Linked DNA regions of Homo sapiens: region 2 is linked to region 1. Evidence: promoter capture Hi-C in 16 types of primary human blood cells and fetal thymus (Javierre and others, 2016). All regions are on one chromosome and are shown on one strand. Each heading gives the region's core, a stretch centred on a gene start or on the middle of the fragment in contact. The rest is flanking DNA. Distances are from core to core; before and after follow the strand shown. Region 1 holds the start of ANGPTL3 (angiopoietin like 3). Region 2 has its middle 42 kb from the start of DOCK7-DT.

Evidence for each region. The method cuts DNA at HindIII sites, captures the fragments that hold promoters and counts their contacts. A CHiCAGO score of 5 or more calls a contact.
Region 2: a fragment that was not itself captured here is called in contact with the fragment with the promoter of ANGPTL3 in region 1 in 2 of 17 cell types (erythroblasts and M2 macrophages); the score reaches 6.6 in erythroblasts.

The regions. Positions count from the first base shown.
Region 1 is chr1:62,595,672-62,599,715 of GRCh38, forward strand. ANGPTL3 (angiopoietin like 3) reads left to right here and starts at 1,849. Exons shown (of 7, transcript NM_014495.4): 1 at 1,849-2,390; 2 at 3,025-3,135. The coding sequence starts at 1,896. All of the region lies in intron 14 of DOCK7 (dedicator of cytokinesis 7), which reads right to left. The HindIII fragment of the contact is 12,927 bases long and covers 1-3,211 here.
Region 2 is chr1:62,728,124-62,732,167 of GRCh38, forward strand. No RefSeq gene overlaps it. Among named protein-coding and RNA genes, the nearest start is that of DOCK7-DT, 42 kb to the left of the region's middle. The HindIII fragment of the contact is 811 bases long and covers 1,484-2,294 here.

The DNA.
Region 1 (4,044 bases), core at 599-3,098:
TAATATCAGCACTTTGAGAGGCTGATATGGGAGGTTCACTTGAAGTCAGGAGTTCAAGGTCAGCTTGGGCAACATAGTGAAACACAGTCTCTACAAAATATTTAAAAATTAGCTGGGTGTGGTGGCATGCATCTATAGTCTCAGCTACTTGGGAGACAGAGGGAGGAGGCTTGCTCGAGCCCAGGAGTTCGTGGCTATAGTGAGCTATGATCATGCCACTGCACTCCAGCCTGGACAACAGAGCAAGACCCTGTCTCTAAAAAAGAAAAGAAATTTGGAAATGGTTTATTTTGTATTAACAATTTATAATTTACACTGAAATTTATTATGATAAAACTTTTCCCTGTGTTAAAAAGCTATTAACTTTATGAAAAATTTCTTTTAGGTAAGGTTGATTATATATACCCACACACATACACAGGTTAAAAGTTAGTTTCATGTGACATAATAACTAGCATTTTGAGCACTACCTGTTTGCCCAGCACTGTTCTAAGTGCTCTACATGTATTATTGTTAAATTATCATAACACTATGAATTATGTACTATAATTACCCCAGCTTTACAGATGAGGAGACTAATCCATGGGGAGGTTAAGTAACTTGTCCAAGGCCAGACAGCTAGAGCCGGCTTTTGGACCCACACCACAGTCTGACTCCAGCACCCATATTCTTAACAATTTCACCATATTAATATGTCAAGATTAAGCAGTTTTAAAGGATGCTATTTTCTCACAAATTTCTTAATATGAACACTCAATAAGAATAATCACTAATATAAGCATTTAGTATTTTTTTAACACTAAGTTGGAAGCATAGTGGAACATTTATTTTTAGAAATATTATTAATTGGCTGGGCTCACGCTTGTAATCGGCTGGGCTCATGCCTGTAAATTTTGGGAGGCCAAGGTAAAAGAATTGCTTGAGCCCAGTATTTCCAGACCAGCATGGGCAATACATTAAGACATCATCTTTAAAAAAAAAATGTTATTAATCTCCTCTTTTTGTTAAATGTATATTATCAAAATTGTTACTAAGCTAACAAACTTCAGAAAAACTTATGATGGGCAAGCTGCTTGTGACATTGAAGGTATTTAAGATTCAATTCTAGTTTGGTCCTAGATGACCACATATCCATTGTTCCTTCAACGAGCACATGGTAAAGAGCCTAGAACACAGAGACACAGAACACAGTGGAGAAAAGGGAGTGAAATGTCTTTAATGACACTTACTATATATGGGATTTTGTGACAATATACAAGGATGGTTAAGACATATAAGGTGATGCAAAAAAACATATTAACAATTATAGTGACAAAAAATGAGGAGCATATAATTATACATTGATTTATACAGAGTACCAGAGGAACACAGCATTGAGAGCCGTAACACCACCTGAGGGAGTGGAGAAAGGCTTCAGAGAGAAAGTGTTTTTTGGAATGGATCACTGTTTCCAAAAGAACTAAAGTACAGTTTGAGAAATGCATACTTAATTCATTACTTTTTTCCCCTCAACTTTAATAATAAATTTACCCAACAAAAAAGTTTATTTTTGACTTGTAAATCTCTTAAAATCATAAAAAAGTAAAATTAGCTTTTAAAAACAGGTAGTCACCATAGCATTGAATGTGTAGTTTATAATACAGCAAAGTTAAATACAATTTCAAATTACCTATTAAGTTAGTTGCTCATTTCTTTGATTTCATTTAGCATTGATCTAACTCAATGTGGAAGAAGGTTACATTCGTGCAAGTTAACACGGCTTAATGATTAACTATGTTCACCTACCAACCTTACCTTTTCTGGGCAAATATTGGTATATATAGAGTTAAGAAGTCTAGGTCTGCTTCCAGAAGAAAACAGTTCCACGTTGCTTGAAATTGAAAATCAAGATAAAAATGTTCACAATTAAGCTCCTTCTTTTTATTGTTCCTCTAGTTATTTCCTCCAGAATTGATCAAGACAATTCATCATTTGATTCTCTATCTCCAGAGCCAAAATCAAGATTTGCTATGTTAGACGATGTAAAAATTTTAGCCAATGGCCTCCTTCAGTTGGGACATGGTCTTAAAGACTTTGTCCATAAGACGAAGGGCCAAATTAATGACATATTTCAAAAACTCAACATATTTGATCAGTCTTTTTATGATCTATCGCTGCAAACCAGTGAAATCAAAGAAGAAGAAAAGGAACTGAGAAGAACTACATATAAACTACAAGTCAAAAATGAAGAGGTAAAGAATATGTCACTTGAACTCAACTCAAAACTTGAAAGCCTCCTAGAAGAAAAAATTCTACTTCAACAAAAAGTGAAATATTTAGAAGAGCAACTAACTAACTTAATTCAAAATCAACCTGAAACTCCAGAACACCCAGAAGTAACTTCACTTAAAGTAAGTAGAAAATAAAGAGGGTTCATGTTTATGTTTTCAATGTGGATCTTTTAAAAAAAATATTTCTAAGGCATGCCATTTGAAATACTTTGTTGCATTGTTGAAATACTTTTTTTTCCAAGAAAAATAATCTCCAGAAAATAAAATTTCCTATTATAATTTCAAGTTAGTTTTTTGTTTCCCTAATGTTATATATGAAAACACTGAAAATTTGCATTTTATATGAAAATTACAAATCGGTTAAATTATACAATCTAGAACACTATGTCATTACACTATTGTAAATTACTGAAGGTAAGTAAAAAGTTAAAAAAAATTTAAAACTATTCTCCAGTGTTTAAAACAGATTAAATAATACAGTAAATGGAAAAGATTTATTCATATGAAAATATGCTGGGCTTTTTCTTTTAATTGAAGTTCAGAAAATCAAATTTTAGAGATAGTACAATTTAAATAAAATGTTAAGGACAAAAATATGTGCTATTTGAAAGAAGCATACAAGGGGAAGGAATTGCCAATATTCATTTTTCAAATCCATTATTAGTTTAAAAATTTAGATTATGATAGTGTTACAGGAAATTAATAGAAAAGAAAGAGGAAAGCAACTTATAACCAACCTACTCTCTATATCCAGACTTTTGTAGAAAAACAAGATAATAGCATCAAAGACCTTCTCCAGACCGTGGAAGACCAATATAAACAATTAAACCAACAGCATAGTCAAATAAAAGAAATAGAAAATCAGGTAAGTCAGTATTTTAATGGTATGTCCCATCTTTCACACAGGTCTGTAAAAACACTGAATCCTAAAATTATTTACAAGCTTTAACTGGATCATGAGTAAAATTATCACATCAGCATAACTGTTAAAATTGCAGGCTCTGAAGCTAATAAACTACCTGCATTTAAACCATGGCTCTAAAACTTTGTGTGACCTTGAATAAATTACTTCACCCCTTTATCTCTCAGTTTCCTCACATATACTACAAAGATAATAACAGAACTTATAGGATTATTGTAAGAAAAAAAATTAATTCATAGCAGCCAATGTCATCTTACTAAAATTCAAATTAGATCATGTTTCTCTTTGCTCAAAACCACACAATAGCTTTCCATTTCACTCATATTGGCTCTTTAGACCAAGATTACCCAACCCTTCGTCATCTCACTGACTTCACCTCCTCTACTCTAGTTATTCTGACCGCTTTACCAGTATTCAAACACATCAAACATACTGCCACCTCAAAGCCTTTGCCCTTGTTGTTTCCTCTAACTGGAACGCTCTTCTGCCCTGGTATCTACGTGGCCCACTCTCTGATTTCCCTTAGGGTCGTTATCAAACAAAAAATTCCCAATGAAGACTTACAAGGTCACTTAACCAAAAATCACAACCGCCTGGTCCCATCCCTGAAAACTTCTACTTCCTTAGCTACTTTTCTCCTGCACACTCACCTTTATTTAACATAACATAAATTTTAGTTATTTATCTCTTCTATTCCTGCACTAAAATGTAAGCTCTGTGAATACAGGGATTTTTTCCATTATCTTCATATTTTCCATTATTTGTATATACTCCAGAATATAGAATACTGTATGGCACACAGTAGGCATTTCTGTTGAATTAATAAATGTAATGTCATATTCACACAGAAGC
Region 2 (4,044 bases), core at 639-3,138, 130 kb after region 1:
GGGGCAGTTTATGCAGAAAAGGGGTAGTAACTGTTGAATGGTTAGGTACCATGGAAAGGGGTGATAACAACCCTGGTGTTGCCATGGCAACGGTAAATTGACATGGCACACTGGTGGGTGGGTCTGATTGAAAACTGCTTTCTCCTTGGCAACACCAGGGAGAAAGTGTGAAAAAGTGTCTTGGCTAGTCCTCAGTCTAGTCCAGTATCCAAGTCCCACCCCTAGAATCAAGTCCCGCCTCCTACCTTAAAAGTACAGAGGAGAAAAAGCACAAATATTAATATTTCAAGATATTATAACATTTCCAACAGTGCTGGAGCCAGCTCATACTGGCTCATAAGAATAGATGGCTTATATTCAGGAATTTTATGAGACAGTGGTTAACCATTATTAAAAATTAAATAAACAGAATATTTATTATAACATAATGAAATAAATTATATTAAAAACAGACAATACTCAAAACTTATCACTTCCTAATTATTGTAGTGAATCCTACTATTATCTATCTTCTTGAGGTTCTTTACATCTATCGTGTCTGTATCACAGAAATATTATATAATGGTGTTCCATATATTTATTTATAAATAAATAAATTAAATAAAACAAAACCAGGTATTATTCCGGCTGTCAAAAAACATTTGCCTCTAAACTTTCTTTTTTTTTTTTTGAGACAGAGTCTCGCTCTGTCACCTAGGCTGGAGTGCAGTGGCACGATCTCGGCTCACTGCAACCTCTGCCTCCCAGGTTCAAGCGATTCTCCTGCCTCAGCCTCCCCAGTAGCTGGGATCACAGGCGCATGCCATCACGCCCAGCTAATTTTTTGTATTTTTAGTAGAAATGGGGTTTCACCGTGTTAGCCAGGATGGCCTCCATCTCCTAACCTTGTGATCTGCCCGCCTTGGGCTCCCAAAGTGCTGGGATTACAGGTGTAAGCCACTGCGCCCAGCCTGCCTCTAAACTTTCAACCTATGCATGCCAAGGTTCAAAACCCTTCTGAAACAATTGATTATTGTTCTACATCCTTCACTAAACCCTTCCACACCACATCCATCCGAGCTGGGCTTAATGCCCCTCCTACACATTCTTAGCATATCATTCCTACCTACCACCTTTGTGTTAAAATGATCTGCTTATCGGCTTCTCTTTGGCTAAAGCTAAACTGTAAGCTTCTGTATGGAAAGCCTCCACAAACCCCAGATGAGACTGAATTTCCCTATTATAATTGTCCACAATTCCCTATAGTTTGGCTTTATAATACTTATGCGTGTGATTATATTTGTAACAGGAATAGCAATTAACGCTCTCTAGTCTTACATACCCATTAAGGCTGAGGCTTTCTTTCACACCCCTCAGTTTCCTCACAGCATTCCTTTTATTTTCAAAAGATTGCTTGAAAAAAAATGTTGAATGTTTCTTCCTCTTTTATTTAAAACAATAGTTTATATTTGTACAGAGTTTTTAAAGTTACATAATTCTATGAAGCTTATAATGAAAAAAGCAGTACACTGTTTCTCCTTTTCTACCCCCAATCCCCAGTACTCAAAGGCAACATTTAAAAGATTTTATTAGTTGTTTCTTCTCATACTTGCCTCTGTCTTCCTAAATAACATTCTTGTATTGCTGCTATTTGGAGATTGTTCAGTTTCATATATTTTGGCTTCCTGCTATGGAAGATGAAGATTAAGCTCTCTTATAATGCTCCCAACACCACACCCCATCACAAACACATTCACATACATTCTTTTCCTCCTCCATTTCTCCCTATATAATTACATCATTGCACAACTTTTGGTTAATTCAACATGACCATACATTGTACAATGACTACATTTCCTCTTTTATACAATATGTTTTGGTTTTCCCGGAATTAATAATTGCCTATATTGTTTGCTTACTTTTCTATGTACCTATAACTAATTCATCCTCAAACATTCCTCGAGAATTATAAATTTCCTTTCATAATGTTAAAATACATTGGTTGTTTCTTATTTTCATTCATTTTGTGACAACATCCTTCTTGGAGGTCTCTGTTAACCCTGCCCCCAACGTGAACAGATTGCTTTCTAGAAATGTTTTGCAGGTGTCACTCTAGGATCTCCTGCATGCTCCTCCTGAGGAGTCAGTTCTCCTGCTTCTGTTGGAGTCCCTATTTTCTGGATCCTCTTTCTTTTATGTTTGGCCTTCTTGCTTTGTGCTTCCATTCTCCAGTAATTCCCAAGAAAGAGTACATGTTGGGTATAATTTTAAGAACACAGACATCTGTAAATGTCTTTCTTCTACACTTGAATTAAAGCTTGGCTACATTTAGAATTCTAGGTTGAAACCATTTTCCTTGGAATACTGAAGATATTGCTCCATTGTCTTCTCACCTGAAACATTGCAAACTGATGGTGTGTGAAAGAAAGCCTCAGCCTTAATGGGTATGTAAGACTAGAGAGCATTAATTGCCATTCCTGTTACAAATATGATCACACGCGTAAGTATTATAAAGCCAAACTATAGGGAATTGTGGACAATTGTAATAGGGGAATTCAGTCTCATCTGGGGTTTGTGGAGGCTTTCCATACAGAAGCTTACAGTTTAGCCAGAGAAGCCGATAAGCAGATCATTTTAATGCAAAGGTGGTAGGTAGGAATGATATGCTAAGAACGCGTAGGAGGGGCATTGAAAGCGCAGCCCGGATGGATGTGGTGTGGAAGGGGTTAGTGAAGGATACAGAACAATAATCAATTGTTTCAGAGAGGTTTTGAACCTTGACATGCTAGGTTGAAAGTTTTGAGACAAATGTTTTTGACTGTCAAAATAATATCTGAGTTTGCATTATTTTATTTTATTTATTTTTGAGACGGAGTTTTGCTCTTGGTCTCCTAGGCTGGAGTGCTATGGCGCGATCTCGGCTCACTGCAACCTCTGCCTCCCGGGTTCAAGAAATTCTCATGCCTCAGCCTCCCGAGAAGCTGTGATTACAGGGACCTGCAACCATGCCTGGCTAATTTTTTCGTATTTTTAATAGAGACAAGGTTTCATCGTCTTGGCCAGGCTGGTCTTGAACTCCTGACCTCAGGTGATCCACCCACCTCAGCCTCCCAAAGTGCTGGGATTACAGGCGTGAGCCACCACGCCCAGCCTTATTTATTTGTTTTTGAGACAGGATCTTGTTCTGTCACCCAGGTTGGAATGCAGTGGTATCTTGGCTTCCTGCAGCTTCTGCCTCCTAGGCTCAAGGGATCCTCCCACCTCAGCCTTCTGAGTAGCTGGGACCACAAGTACTTGCCACCATGACCAGCTACTTTTTTAAATTTTTTTTAGCAACGAGGTCTCACTTTGTTACCCAGGCTGGTCTCAAACTCCTGGGCTCAAGCTATCCAGCTGCCTTGACCTCCCAAAATGCTGGGATTACAGGCATGAACCACCATGCCTGGTGGTTTTAATATTTTAATAATCTCTTTATAGATTTGGTAAAGAGAGGGGAAAATAGGCCAAATAATAGCAATTTTTTGTTTGTTTGTTTTTTGAGAGGGAGTCTAACTTTGTCACCCAGGCTAGAGTGCAGTGGTGCCATCTCTGCTCACTGCAACCTCTGCCTCCCAGGTTCAACTGATTCTCCTGCCTCAGCCTCCTGAGTAGCTGGATTACAGGCACCTGCCACCACGCCTGGCTAATTTTTGAATTTTTAGTAGAGACGGGGTTTCACCATGTTGGTCAGGCTGGTCTCGAACTCCTTACCTCAAGTGATCCCCTGCCTCGGCCTCCCAGAGTGCTGGCCTGGGATTACAGGTGTGAGCCACCGCTCCCGGCCTAATAGTAATGTTTTAAAATAACAGGTGTGGAAAAATCTCTATTTACTCAGGCCTGAGAATATTTCTTGCAAGTCATATTCCCTTTTTTTTGCCTTAGAGATATAAGAAATTAGGAGAAATCAGGGGGTATCAAATACCCTCATACTCTTTTCCTAGGAAAAAAAAATTTAAAGAATGTATTGCAACTTTGCTCACTTATATTTCTTTCAATGGGAATATTGTTCATCAATAAATGCTCGGT